Linked DNA regions of Homo sapiens: regions 2, 3 and 4 are each linked to region 1. Evidence: promoter capture Hi-C in 16 types of primary human blood cells and fetal thymus (Javierre and others, 2016). All regions are on one chromosome and are shown on one strand. The core of a region is centred on a gene start or on the middle of the fragment in contact, and the rest is flanking DNA. Distances in the headings are between cores, read along the strand shown.

Region 1 (2,700 bases), core at 140-2,639:
CGCCACATTATAAGTAATTCCATTTTTCCTCTTTAGAATTAATAGGACCCAAGAAGGATGCATGGGGCAGAGGACAACCCTGGGGTGGCCAGAGATGGAGGCAGGGTATCCGGAGTGGGGGCTTAGAGATGGAGAGATGAAGAGGCAGGGAGAGGCAAGACAGGGGCAGAGGCCGGCACTCAGGGCCAGGGCTCAGGAGCTGGGCAGATGCACAGACCCTGAGGAGGAGAACAGGATGATGGGTAGGTTATCAGAGTCCCTACCTTGTTGTGATTTTTATTAGATGGTGCTCCATGGCTCTCACACATTGTTTAAGCCAATCCTACGGGCTGGAGCCGGCAGACCTGGGAGGGCTGGTGCTTTGTGGGGTCTCCTGCTAGAGACACCAGAGGCAGGGTAGGGCAGAGAAAGCAGAGACTCCAGAAACAGTATCAGTCTTCCAAGGAGCCCCAAGTTCTCTGTGTCCCATTAGGGCCAGGCTGTCTGGCCAAGGCAGGCAGGCAGGTAGAAGAGGGCTTTGCCTCCAGGCAGTGGGGAGGCCCCACATTTAAAAAGCCAGTTTACCTGGAAGAAGGCAGGCGGTGAGTAAATTCAGAGTCCCTGCACCCAGCCTGCCCTCCCATCAGTCCACATACCAGGGTCTTGAGGCTCAGGGCCTGTCTGAGGCCTAGGGCTGCTGGCCAGAGGGGGCAGGCTCCAGCCTTCCCTGGCTCCAGCAGGGAGACTTCGCTCATTCTTCTCTTGGCCTTTTCTTCCTACCTGGGCCAGGGACTCCCTGAGCCGTGGTGCCAGGGCCACCCAAGGCTGGGGAGGATGGGGAAGGGGGCGGCAAGCCCTCTTCTTGCAGGAGTCCCCGCTGAGCTCCCTTCACCAGGGGCTAGGTGAAGGGAGCGAGGCCAACCAGAAGCCCTAGTGGAGAGCCCATCCAGGGCAGGGGTTCCAAGGAGGACAAAAAAGCCGGTTAGTGAAGGTGCGCTCTGCGCCAGGGACTGTGCCGGCAGACACAGGCACTACTGACACCGCCCCCAGCCCTTCGGAGGAGTCCTCGGCTCCTCATCTCCAGCTCCAGCCCCTTTCCAGCCGGCTGGTGGGCGGCTGGGAGTGGGGACACTGGATCGGAGGGGACCCTTCACGGGAGTACTCGCTGCCCTCACTCGTCTCGGAACGCGGCTGGACCCGGAGTCCCCGACCGCAGCCCGCGCACGACCCCCGGGAGCCTGTCTCCGCGGCCGCCGACCCACGTCCGCGCTGCCGCCCCACTGCCAGGTGGCCCGAGAGATGCAGGAGGAAGGAGGGGCGCGCGGGGCGGGCGGAGGAGGGTGGAGCCGCCGGCGCGCCCCCTCCCTCGGGCCGGCAGGCGGGCGGCGCGGCGGGCTCGGCGCGGCGGCAGAGGAGGCGGCGGGCGCTGGGAGACACCGGACGCCCGCTCGGCTGCGCTGCGGCTCAGGCCCCCGCTCGGGCCCGACCCGCTCGGTCACCGCCGGCTCGGGCGCGCACCTGCCGGGTAAGTGGCGCCCGAGTCCCTGCCGCTGAGGCCACCACCGCGGCCACTTCCGTCGCCGCCGCCGCCACTGCGCGGAGCCTCCCGGCTTTGTCTGCGTCCTCTCGGCTGCGGCTCCGGCTGCGGCTGCGGCTGCGGCTCCCGGGCTCGGCTCTCGGGCTCCGCGGACTGCGCCGCACGGCGCCGGGGCTCGGGGGTCGCCAGCCAGCTCGCTCCCCGCCGGGGGTGAAACTTCGCCCAAGTTTGGGTTCTGGGGAGAACCTGTTGAAGCCAGGAGTGGCTCGGGGCGGGGACAGAGATGGTGGGAGTGGGGGGAGGGAACCCGTCTCGGGTTCTCCATCAGGGCCGTCCAGTGGGTGGGTTGTGTGTCCGCCACCCTGGGGCGTTGGCGCGCGCCCCTAGGGAAGGGGCGAGTGGGCCGTCGGGCCACCGAGCAGAAGGAGCCAGGGAGCGGGGTTGGCGTGGTCGATCCCGCGGACTTCCGCGAGGACAAAGTTTGGTTCTTTGGCCGCTTTGCGGAGCGTCTGTCTGGGTCCAGCGCGGAGAGCTGAAAGTGTCGCATAGACGCGCCCCTGACCGCACCTCCTCACTCCAGCCTCCGCTTCTTCCCCCACTCCACCCGGCCTTGGCTGGGGCAGGTCGTGGAAGAGAAAGGCGAAGGGGAAGAGGGACGACCTTTCAATGAAGGCCCACTACGTGCCAGGCCCCTTGCCTGGCGCCTCTTGCTTCCAATAAGAGCCCTCCCAACCCTGCGGCCCTCAAGTGTGTGCAGGGAGGGGACAGGGGGGAAGACTCCACTGTGCACCCGGGGGTGGTGGCCCCGCCGAACCCTCATAGTCCCTGGTTTCCGCAGTGAATGAGGCCCGCGGCTGGGGCCTCTGCACCCAGGCCTGTGTCCCTCCTCGCGGTGACCCTGAGCCCCATCCGGCTGCGGCGCCTCCTGAGCCTGCTTCCGCCCTTCCCGCAGCTGCGGCCCCAGGGCCATGCGGAGGCCCACGAGGAGGCCGGCGGCCACGCGCATCCCGTAGCCCAGGTGGCCCAGGTCTGCACCGCGGCGGCCTCGGCGCCATGGAGCCCCCGTATTCGCTGACGGCGCACTACGATGAGTTCCAAGAGGTCAAGTACGTGAGCCGCTGCGGCGCGGGGGGCGCGCGCGGGGCCTCCCTGCCCCCGGGCTTCCCGTTGGGCGCTGCGCGCAG
Region 2 (2,700 bases), core at 190-2,689, 580 kb after region 1:
TAAAGAAGCCAGGCACAAAAGGCTACATACAATTATGAATCCTTTCATATGAAAGATCATGAATAGGCAGGTCTGAAAACCCAGAAAGCACGTCGGTGGCTGTCAGGGCTGGAGCGGGGCTGGTGAAATAGGCAGTAACTGCTGATAGGTACAGGATTTCTTCCAAGGTTAGGAAAACAGCCTCAAATTGATCGTGGTGATGGTTGCACAACTCTGTAAAGATATAAAACACAGGCCAGGCATGGTGGCTCATGCCTGTAATCCCAGCACTTTGGGAGGCTGAGCGGGTGGATCACTTGAGGCCAGGAGTTCAAGAACAGCCTGGGCAACATGGTGAAACCCCATTTCTACCAAAAATACAAAAAATTAGCCGAGTGCGGTGGCGGGTTCCTGTAATCTCAGCTACTCGGGAGGCTGAGGCAGGAGAATCACTTGGGCCTGGGAAGTGGAGGTTGCAGTGAGCCAAGATCGTACCATTGCATTCCAGCCTGGGTGACAGAGCGAGACTGTGTCTCAAAAAAAAAAAAAAAAAAAAAGGCCCGGCGCGGTGGTTCACACCTGTCATCCCAGCACTTTGGGTGGCCGAGGTGGGCAGATCACGAGGTCAGGAGATCGAGACCATCCTGGCTAACACGGTGAAACCCCGTCTCTACTAAAAATACAAAAAATTAGCCGGGCGTGGTGGCAGGCGCCTGTAGTCCCAGCTACTTGGGAGGCTGAGGCAGGAGAATGGCGTGAACCCGGGAGGCAGAGCTTGCAGTGAACAGAGATCGCACCACTGCACTCCAGCCTGGGCGACAGAGTGAGACTCTGTCTCAAAAAAAAAAAAAAAAACCCAACAACATTGAATTTGGATTCACTGCTTTAAATGGGTGAAGTGTACGGTGTGTGAACTATATCAAAATAAAGCTGTGACTAAAAAAAAGTTACTTCAAAATAGAAGAAAGACTCTTAGAATAAAGACTCCTGCACTCAGAGCCCCACCCTGTGTGTGAGACTAGACGTTTTCCAGGAGCGATGTTCCCTAAGCTGCATACAGGGGAGGGGGACCCACGCCAAGGTGTCAGGTGGCCAGGTCATTCCTGGCACCACTCCTTTTTCTAGGGGAACTTGGCCAAGTGTAACCTCAGCTTCTGTAAACTGGAAGCAATCATAGTACTACCTCGTGGGGGCTGCTACAAGGATGGCATGAGATGACCCGTATCCTCACTCTAAGCCTGACAGGTAGAGAGCTGTGGTCACTATGAGACCAGGTCATGCACCTCTGCCACCCAAGTGCCTGGGTTTCCCAAACTGCAAGCAAAATCTCAGTCCCAGGAACAGTGATACCCAAATCACAACAGCCTGGAGGACTGTGCCGCCTCCTCACAGTCACCTCCATGGCTTCAGGGAAATGCCAGAGACACCTCACCTGTGAACATGACAAGCCCATTTGCTTTCTTCCCTTTTCCTTCAGGTTGATAGTCCACAGCTCACAGCCCTCAGAGACGACCCTGGACCCTGCATGCTGGCAATTCCCCCCAGGGATGCTGCCCTGCACTGGGTCCTCCTGAGCTCCCGGGGTGCCCAGCTCTGGGGCTGCAGTGGGGGAGGATTCTGAGTCTCACACTGTCTAAGTGGTGCTGCTGGGCTGAATCTGTGGTCTTTGTATCACATGAGCTGCCGCATGGGCTACTGCCACCAGCTGCTTGGCCTTCAAGCATGAAGTCAATACAGGTGGGTGGGGAGGGGCAGAGGCGGAGGGTGGCAGATGACCCCAAGCCACTCCCTCCTTCCTCTTCAAATGCTTATTTCTGTCTTCACAGTGTTCTCATTCCCTACCCAACACACCCCGCAAACTCTCCACCTCCACCAGCCAAGCAACACGGGTCCTTGTGCTTGTCAATGCCTACGAAGAGCCGTGAACTCCCTGGTCCATAAAAGCGGTCCCATTTGGGCAGAGCCAAGATGCTCTGCTATACCCCAAAGGTGGCTGCAACTCCCTCAAGGGCAGGAATGGGGCCTTTCTTGTTTTGGTGTTCCCGACATCTAGCCCAGTTCCTGGAATGTCCCAGGTGCTGGCAGAAGTTTGCTGGAGGGCTCTTTGCAGAAGGCACAGAGGACCACATTCTGTTATCAGCAAGTCAAACCAATGTGGCTGGCCTGGGGACATTAGCTTCTGTCCCTTGATGGATGCTGGCCACCCTACCTTCCAAGACACTGCCCAAGAGAGGTCTCTTCTAAGGGAGTGGCAGGCACATGAAGAAGGAGAGACCTCCCCCGCCCCCGCAGGAAGCGCTCCTTCCCACACAGGCTTTCCTCCCTGCACATCTTCACGTCCAAAAGCCACAGAAATGGCTGCTCAGGGCTGGGCGTGGTGGCTCACTCCTGTAACCCCAGCACTTTGGGAGGCTGAGGCAGGCAGATCACCTGAGATCAGGAGTTCGATACCAGCCTGGCCAACATGGCGAAACCCTATCTCTACTGAAAGTACAAAAATGAGCCGTGCATTGTGGTGCATGTCTGTAATCCCAGCTACCAGGGAGGCTGAAGCAGGAGAATCATTTGAACCCGGGAGGCAGAGCTTGCAGTGAGCTGAGATTGCGCCACTGCACTCCAGCCTGGGCAACAGAGGGAGACTCTGTCTCAAAGAAAAAAAAAAGCCACAGAAATGGCTGCTCAATTTCTGTTGTTGTCATTATCAAAGTTTTAAGGCTTCCT
Region 3 (2,700 bases), core at 181-2,680, 620 kb after region 1:
CGTAGTCTCGCTCTCATCGCCCAGGCTAGAGTGCAGTGGCTCCATCTCAGCTCACTGCAACCTCTGCCTCCTGGGTTCTAGCAATTCTCCTGCCTCAGCCTCCCTAGTAGCTGGAATTACAGGCGTCTGCCACTATGCCCAGCATTTTTGTATTTTAGTAGAGATGGGGTTTCACCGTGTTGGCCAGGCTGGTCTCGAACTCCTGACCTTAAGTGATCCACCGGTCTCCACCTCCCAAAGGGCTGGGATTACAGGCGTGAGCCACTGCGCCTGGCCAAAATTTGAATAAATAAAAGATCATGACAGCATAATAGAGACTTGTAATACTCAATCGTTCAGAAGTAAATTTTCCTTTTTTTTTTTTTTTTTGATCTTCTCTGTTTTATAAAATTAAAATCAGGTGAACGAACTATATTAAGATTCTAGTGATTTTGTCCACATGTATTATGGGATCAGTGCCTTGGCAATTTCTTGAAATTGAGAGCCCAACACCACCCAAAGGACACAATTGTAGATGCTGAGGAAAACAAAGAAAAGAAAATGACAAAAAGAAATGAAAAGAGAACTCGGGAGGTTGAGGAAGGAGAATCGCTTGAACTCAGGAGGCAGAGGTTGCAGTGAGCCGAGGTCTGCACCACTGCACTCCAGCTTGGGTGACAGAGTGCGACCTCATCTCAATGAAAAGAATAACGAAATGAAAAGAGAAAAACAGAATGATCCAATCTTTTGCTTATGGTCGAAGTTCTTAAAAATCTATTATATCTATGGATCAGTTTGATACTAGCTAAAAATTCGGACGTTAGGGCAACGCCTCCTCAAATTCTGATTCAATACTGCTGGACTTCAAAAATAAAGTCCCCTAAAGTGATTGTCACGTGGGTGGCTCTCAGACAGCATTTTGAGAATAACTACTGTAATGATTAAACCTTGGGGAAAAAATCTTGAAGAGTCATTTGCCTAATTTCTGGCCACTTTCTCATCAGGAGGAAAAAAAATGAAACCAGAAAGAACGCTTCCATTATTATATTCTTGAATTTCTTAATCATTTCTGGGTATCTTGTTCCTTGACTGATCTTTAATTGCAATTCCAAGGCAAAAATAAACACAGTCCTTTCTACTTTGCTATCTAGCATGTAGAATAACTTTTTATCAAAAACAGAATTCGGCTTCTAACTTCACAACTCCTTTGCCCATTCTTTAATTGGGTTGTCTTTTTATTACTGAATTTAAAGAGTTCTTTAATATTCTAGATTCCAGTCCCTTATCAGATATATAATTTTCAAATATTTTCTCCCATCAGTGGGTTGTCTTTGCCTCTCTTGTTGGTATCATGAATGCTTTTAATTTGATAAAGTCCAATTTACCTATTTTTTCTTTGGTTGCTTGTGCTTTTGGTATCATACCTAAGAAGCCACTCCCAAATCCAAGGTGGCAAAGATTTACCTCTATGGTTTTTTTTTTCCTAAGAATTTGTTTTAGGCCAGGTGTGGTGGTTCACGCCTGTGATCCCAGCACTTTGGGAGGCCGAGGTGGGTGGATCACCTAGGTCAGGAGTTCGAGACTGGCCTGGCCAACATGGTGAAACTCCGTCTCTACTAAAAATACAAAAATTAGCTGGGCATCGTGGTGGGCACCTGTAATCCCAGCTACTCAGGAGGCTGAGGCAGGAGAATCACTTGAACCCGGGAGGCAGAGGTTGCAGTGAGTCAAGATGGCACCATTGCACTCCAGCCTGGGTGACAGAGTGAGATGCCGTCTCAAAAAAAAAAAAAAAATTTGTTTTAGCTTACATTTCAGTCTATGATAGCTCTTACAGTTAGCTCTTTGAGCTAATTTTTGTAGACGTATGAGGTAGGTATACAACTTTATTATTATGATTATATTTTGCATGTAGATATCCAGTTGTCCCAGAGCCATCTGTTGAAAAAAAAAAAACAATTCTTTCCCTCACTGTTTTGGAACCCTTATCAAAAATCAATGAACTGTCAATGTGAGGGTTGATTTCTGGGATCTTCTGTTCTATTCCACTGATCTTTATGTCCAACCTTATGCCACTACCGCAATTTTGCTTACTGTTGCTTTTTAGTAAGTTTTGAAATCAGGAAGTGTGAGTCCTCCAACTGTCTTCTTTTTCAGGATTGTTTTGGCTGTTTGCTTGTTTGATTGCTATTGGTAACTCTGGAGACCTTGAGTTTCCACATGCATTTTAGGGGCAGCTTGTCCATTTCTGCAAAGAACCCAGGCAGAATTCTGACGGAGATTGCACTGAATCTGTAGATCAGTTTGGGGAGTCTTTCCGTTTTAACAATATTTAGGTATTTTGATCTATCAACATAAGGTGTCTTTCCATTTATTTAAATCTTTTAAATGTCCACAATATTTTGTAGTTTTAAGAGCATACATTTTACACTTCTGTTTTTAAATTTATTCCTAGGCTTTTTATTTTTTATTTTTTTATTTTTTTGAGATGGAGTCTCACTCTGTCACCCAGGCTGGAGTGCAGTGACACGATCTTGGCTCACTGCAACCTTTGTCTCCCAGGTTCAAGCGATTCTCCTGCCTCAGCCTCCCGAGTAGCTGGGATTACAGGCACCGACGACCACTCCCAGCTAATTTTTGTATTTTTAGTAGAGACAGGGTTTCACCATGTTGGCCAGGCTGGTCTCAGCATTTTATTTTTTCTTGCTATAAATGAAATCA
Region 4 (2,700 bases), core at 71-2,570, 590 kb after region 1:
CTGGCTTCGGGCCTCGAAGGGCTACAGGCCCTCTGCTCTGAATTGTGAACTGCGATCTTGCGCGTTCAGGTTTTCCGGTAGTGGCTTTGCTGTTCTAAGTCAAGGCATCAGTGACTACCTTGACCTCAAGAGGACTTCTTCCACTATTTGAGCAACCTGCTTCTAGACCATTCTTGCCAGTTAGGAAAAGTTTTATTCAGTAAAATATTTTCAGTGAACCACTGGACAAAAACCAGGTGGCTGCTTTCCTTTGATCAGAGAAGTCCTCACTCCCTGTATGAGTCTGTTCTCACACTGCTATAAAGAAATACCTGAGACCAGATAACTTGAAAAGAGGTTTCATTGGCTCATGGTTCTGCAGGCTATACAGGAAGCATGAGGTTGGCATCTGCTCGGCTTCCAGGAGGCCTCAGGAAACCTACAATCATGGCAGAAGGTGAAGGGAGAGCGAACACCTCACACGGCCGGAGCAGAAGCGAGAGAGACAGCAGGGAGGTGCCACCCACTTTTAAATGAGCAGATCTCGCGAGAATGCACTCACTCTCACGAGAACAGCACCAAGAGGGAAATCCACCCCCATGATCCAACCACCTCCCACCAGGCCCCACCTCCAACACTGAGGATTATAATTCCACAGGAGATCTGGGAGGGACACAGATTCAAACCATATCTTTCCCCTTCTTCTTTGAATGTATTCGTTTCTTGACATCCACCTGCCAGGGGAGAATGGCCTTCAGGAGCTCGAAGCAGCCACAGGTGTCAAGTCGGGGCTTTCCCAGGCCTCCTTCAGCAGCTTCTCAGGTTCATTAACAAACATGGCCTGGCCTCCAGGTCAGTCTCCGTTAACGCCTCAAGGCTGCCTGGACTCTTCTCTGCCTCTGTTGCCCCTGCAAGGAAACATTCCCTCAGCTTCCAACATCCCCCTTTGTGCCAGGAGTCACCTGGGTCCTGTTAACACAAGGATGGACCAGGGAGGGTGCCCAGAGCTGACATGGGGTGACAAAGGGCACCAGGACTGCATGTCAGAGAGATCTGGGTAAGAAGCAGCTAGGTACCACATCCTACTTCTAACCCAGAGGGATGGAGCGGAGTAGGGCGAAGGCACCAGAGTGACAGAGAGGGTGTGAGAGTGAATCATGGGTGGGCCCCATTCCTCTCTGACAACCTGTGTTCAGAGAAGCGGGAGATGAATGGGACGGCTGGTTGTCTTCATGAAGTTTAGGAGTTAGGTGGAGAAAAACAGTCAGCAGCAGAACTTTACATATGGTTTAAGAATGGCTGCAATGGAAGATTTTTGTATTTGTTTTTGTTTTAGGTTTTTTATTTCTGTTTTTTTTTTTTTTTTTTTTTTTTTTTTGAGCCAGGATCTCACTCTGTCATCCAGGCTGGAGTGCAGTAGTGCCATCACGGCTCACTGCAGCTTCGACCTCCCAGGCTCAAGTGATCCTCCCGCCTCATCCTCCCGAGTAGCTGGGACTATGGGCATGTGCCACCACACCTGGCTAATTTTTTAATTATTATTTGTAGAGATAAGGTCTCATTATGTTGCCCACATTGGTCTCGAACTCCTGGGCTCGAGTCCTCCCACCTCAGCCTTCCAAAGCGTTGGGATTACAGACATGAGCCACTGCTCCTGGGATGGAAAATTTGTTAAGGGAGGAGGGGACAGGTGAGGAAAATTTGGTTGCAGTTCAAGTGAGAAGAGCCTTCACCGTAGAGCAAAGGAGAGTGGACTTAAGTATACAGGCAGTGGGGGAAAGGCGTGATGTTAGAAGTTTATTCGGACAGCAGCTTGTAGGATGTCTGGAGCCATGTACTCTGCTGTTCATGCTGTGATCACCCTGTTGAGCCTAAAAACATTGTATCAGCCAGGTTTCTGCTGAGTCCTACTGGATAACAAACTCCACAATCCCCGTGGCTTAGAGCAGCAATCATCTATATCGCACTCACAAATGTGCCTGCTGGCCAGAGCAGCTCTCCTTCAGGCCCTGGGTTGCATTTAGTTCTCTTCATGTGTCTCTCATTCTGAGGCCAGTGGCTACCTGGGGTATGTTCTTCCCATGGAGGAAAGCAGAAAGTGCAAGAGGGGTGGGTGGCAGCACTGACACTCTTTGGAACTGACATACTGTCACTCTGCCCACACTCCAATGGCCAAAGCATGTCGTATAGCCAAGCCCAACATCCATGGAGCAGAGAAATACACTCTGCCTACTCTAGTGGGAGACACTTTAGCGTCTTGCAGCAAAGGGCATGCACATAAGATTGGAAATAGATCGAAAGGCAACAGTTCATAAAATTCCTTTCAGCCATGATGCTTGGGGGAAGCAAAGACCCATAGAGAGATGCCAGCAGGGATGCTTGCACGCCCCAGACCAGGCAGCTCCAGGAAGTTCCTTTTCATACCTTTCTCTGGAATGCACAAAATGTCTAGGGTTGTTATCCAATAAAAATGCAACTCCTTTCTATCCTCTACTTCACTGTAAAAGTAGCTAATATTTACTAAGCAGTTACCATGTGCCAGCCACTACTCCAGTAATTAGCATAAATCATCTCCTTTAACCCTCACAAGTCTATTAGGTGGTTACTATTCTTTCTTTTTTTTTTTTTTGAGACGGAGTCTTGCTCTACTGCCAGGCTGGAGTGCAGTGGCACCATCTCGGCTCACTGCAACCTCTGACTCCCTGGTTCAAGCGATTCTCC

What was found. The method cuts DNA at HindIII sites, captures the fragments that hold promoters and counts their contacts. A CHiCAGO score of 5 or more calls a contact.
Region 2: a contact is called between a fragment that was not itself captured here and the fragment with the promoter of ECEL1 in region 1, in 2 of 17 cell types (M1 macrophages and M0 macrophages). The highest score is 7.1, in M1 macrophages.
Region 3: a fragment that was not itself captured here is called in contact with the fragment with the promoter of ECEL1 in region 1 in 3 of 17 cell types (endothelial precursors, naive CD8 T cells and M2 macrophages); the score reaches 7.0 in endothelial precursors.
Region 4: a contact is called between a fragment that was not itself captured here and the fragment with the promoter of ECEL1 in region 1, in 16 of 17 cell types (endothelial precursors, M0 macrophages, M1 macrophages and 13 more). The highest score is 18.0, in endothelial precursors.

The regions. Positions count from the first base shown.
Region 1 is chr2:232,486,523-232,489,222 of GRCh38, reverse strand. It overlaps ECEL1 (endothelin converting enzyme like 1), which reads left to right and starts at 1,389. Exons shown (of 18, transcript NM_004826.4): 1 at 1,389-1,504; 2 at 2,469-2,700. The coding sequence starts at 2,570. It overlaps LOC124906124 (a long non-coding RNA gene), which reads right to left and starts at 1,280. Exons shown (of 3, transcript XR_007088123.1): 1 at 264-1,280. The HindIII fragment of the contact is 9,213 bases long and covers 1-2,700 here.
Region 2 is chr2:231,909,940-231,912,639 of GRCh38, reverse strand. No RefSeq gene overlaps it. Among named protein-coding and RNA genes, the nearest start is that of NPPC, 15 kb to the left of the region's middle. The HindIII fragment of the contact is 6,149 bases long and covers 1-2,700 here.
Region 3 is chr2:231,866,030-231,868,729 of GRCh38, reverse strand. No RefSeq gene overlaps it. Among named protein-coding and RNA genes, the nearest start is that of MIR1471, 25 kb to the left of the region's middle. The HindIII fragment of the contact is 2,901 bases long and covers 1-2,700 here.
Region 4 is chr2:231,892,978-231,895,677 of GRCh38, reverse strand. No RefSeq gene overlaps it. Among named protein-coding and RNA genes, the nearest start is that of MIR1471, 2.0 kb to the right of the region's middle. The HindIII fragment of the contact is 3,788 bases long and covers 1-2,700 here.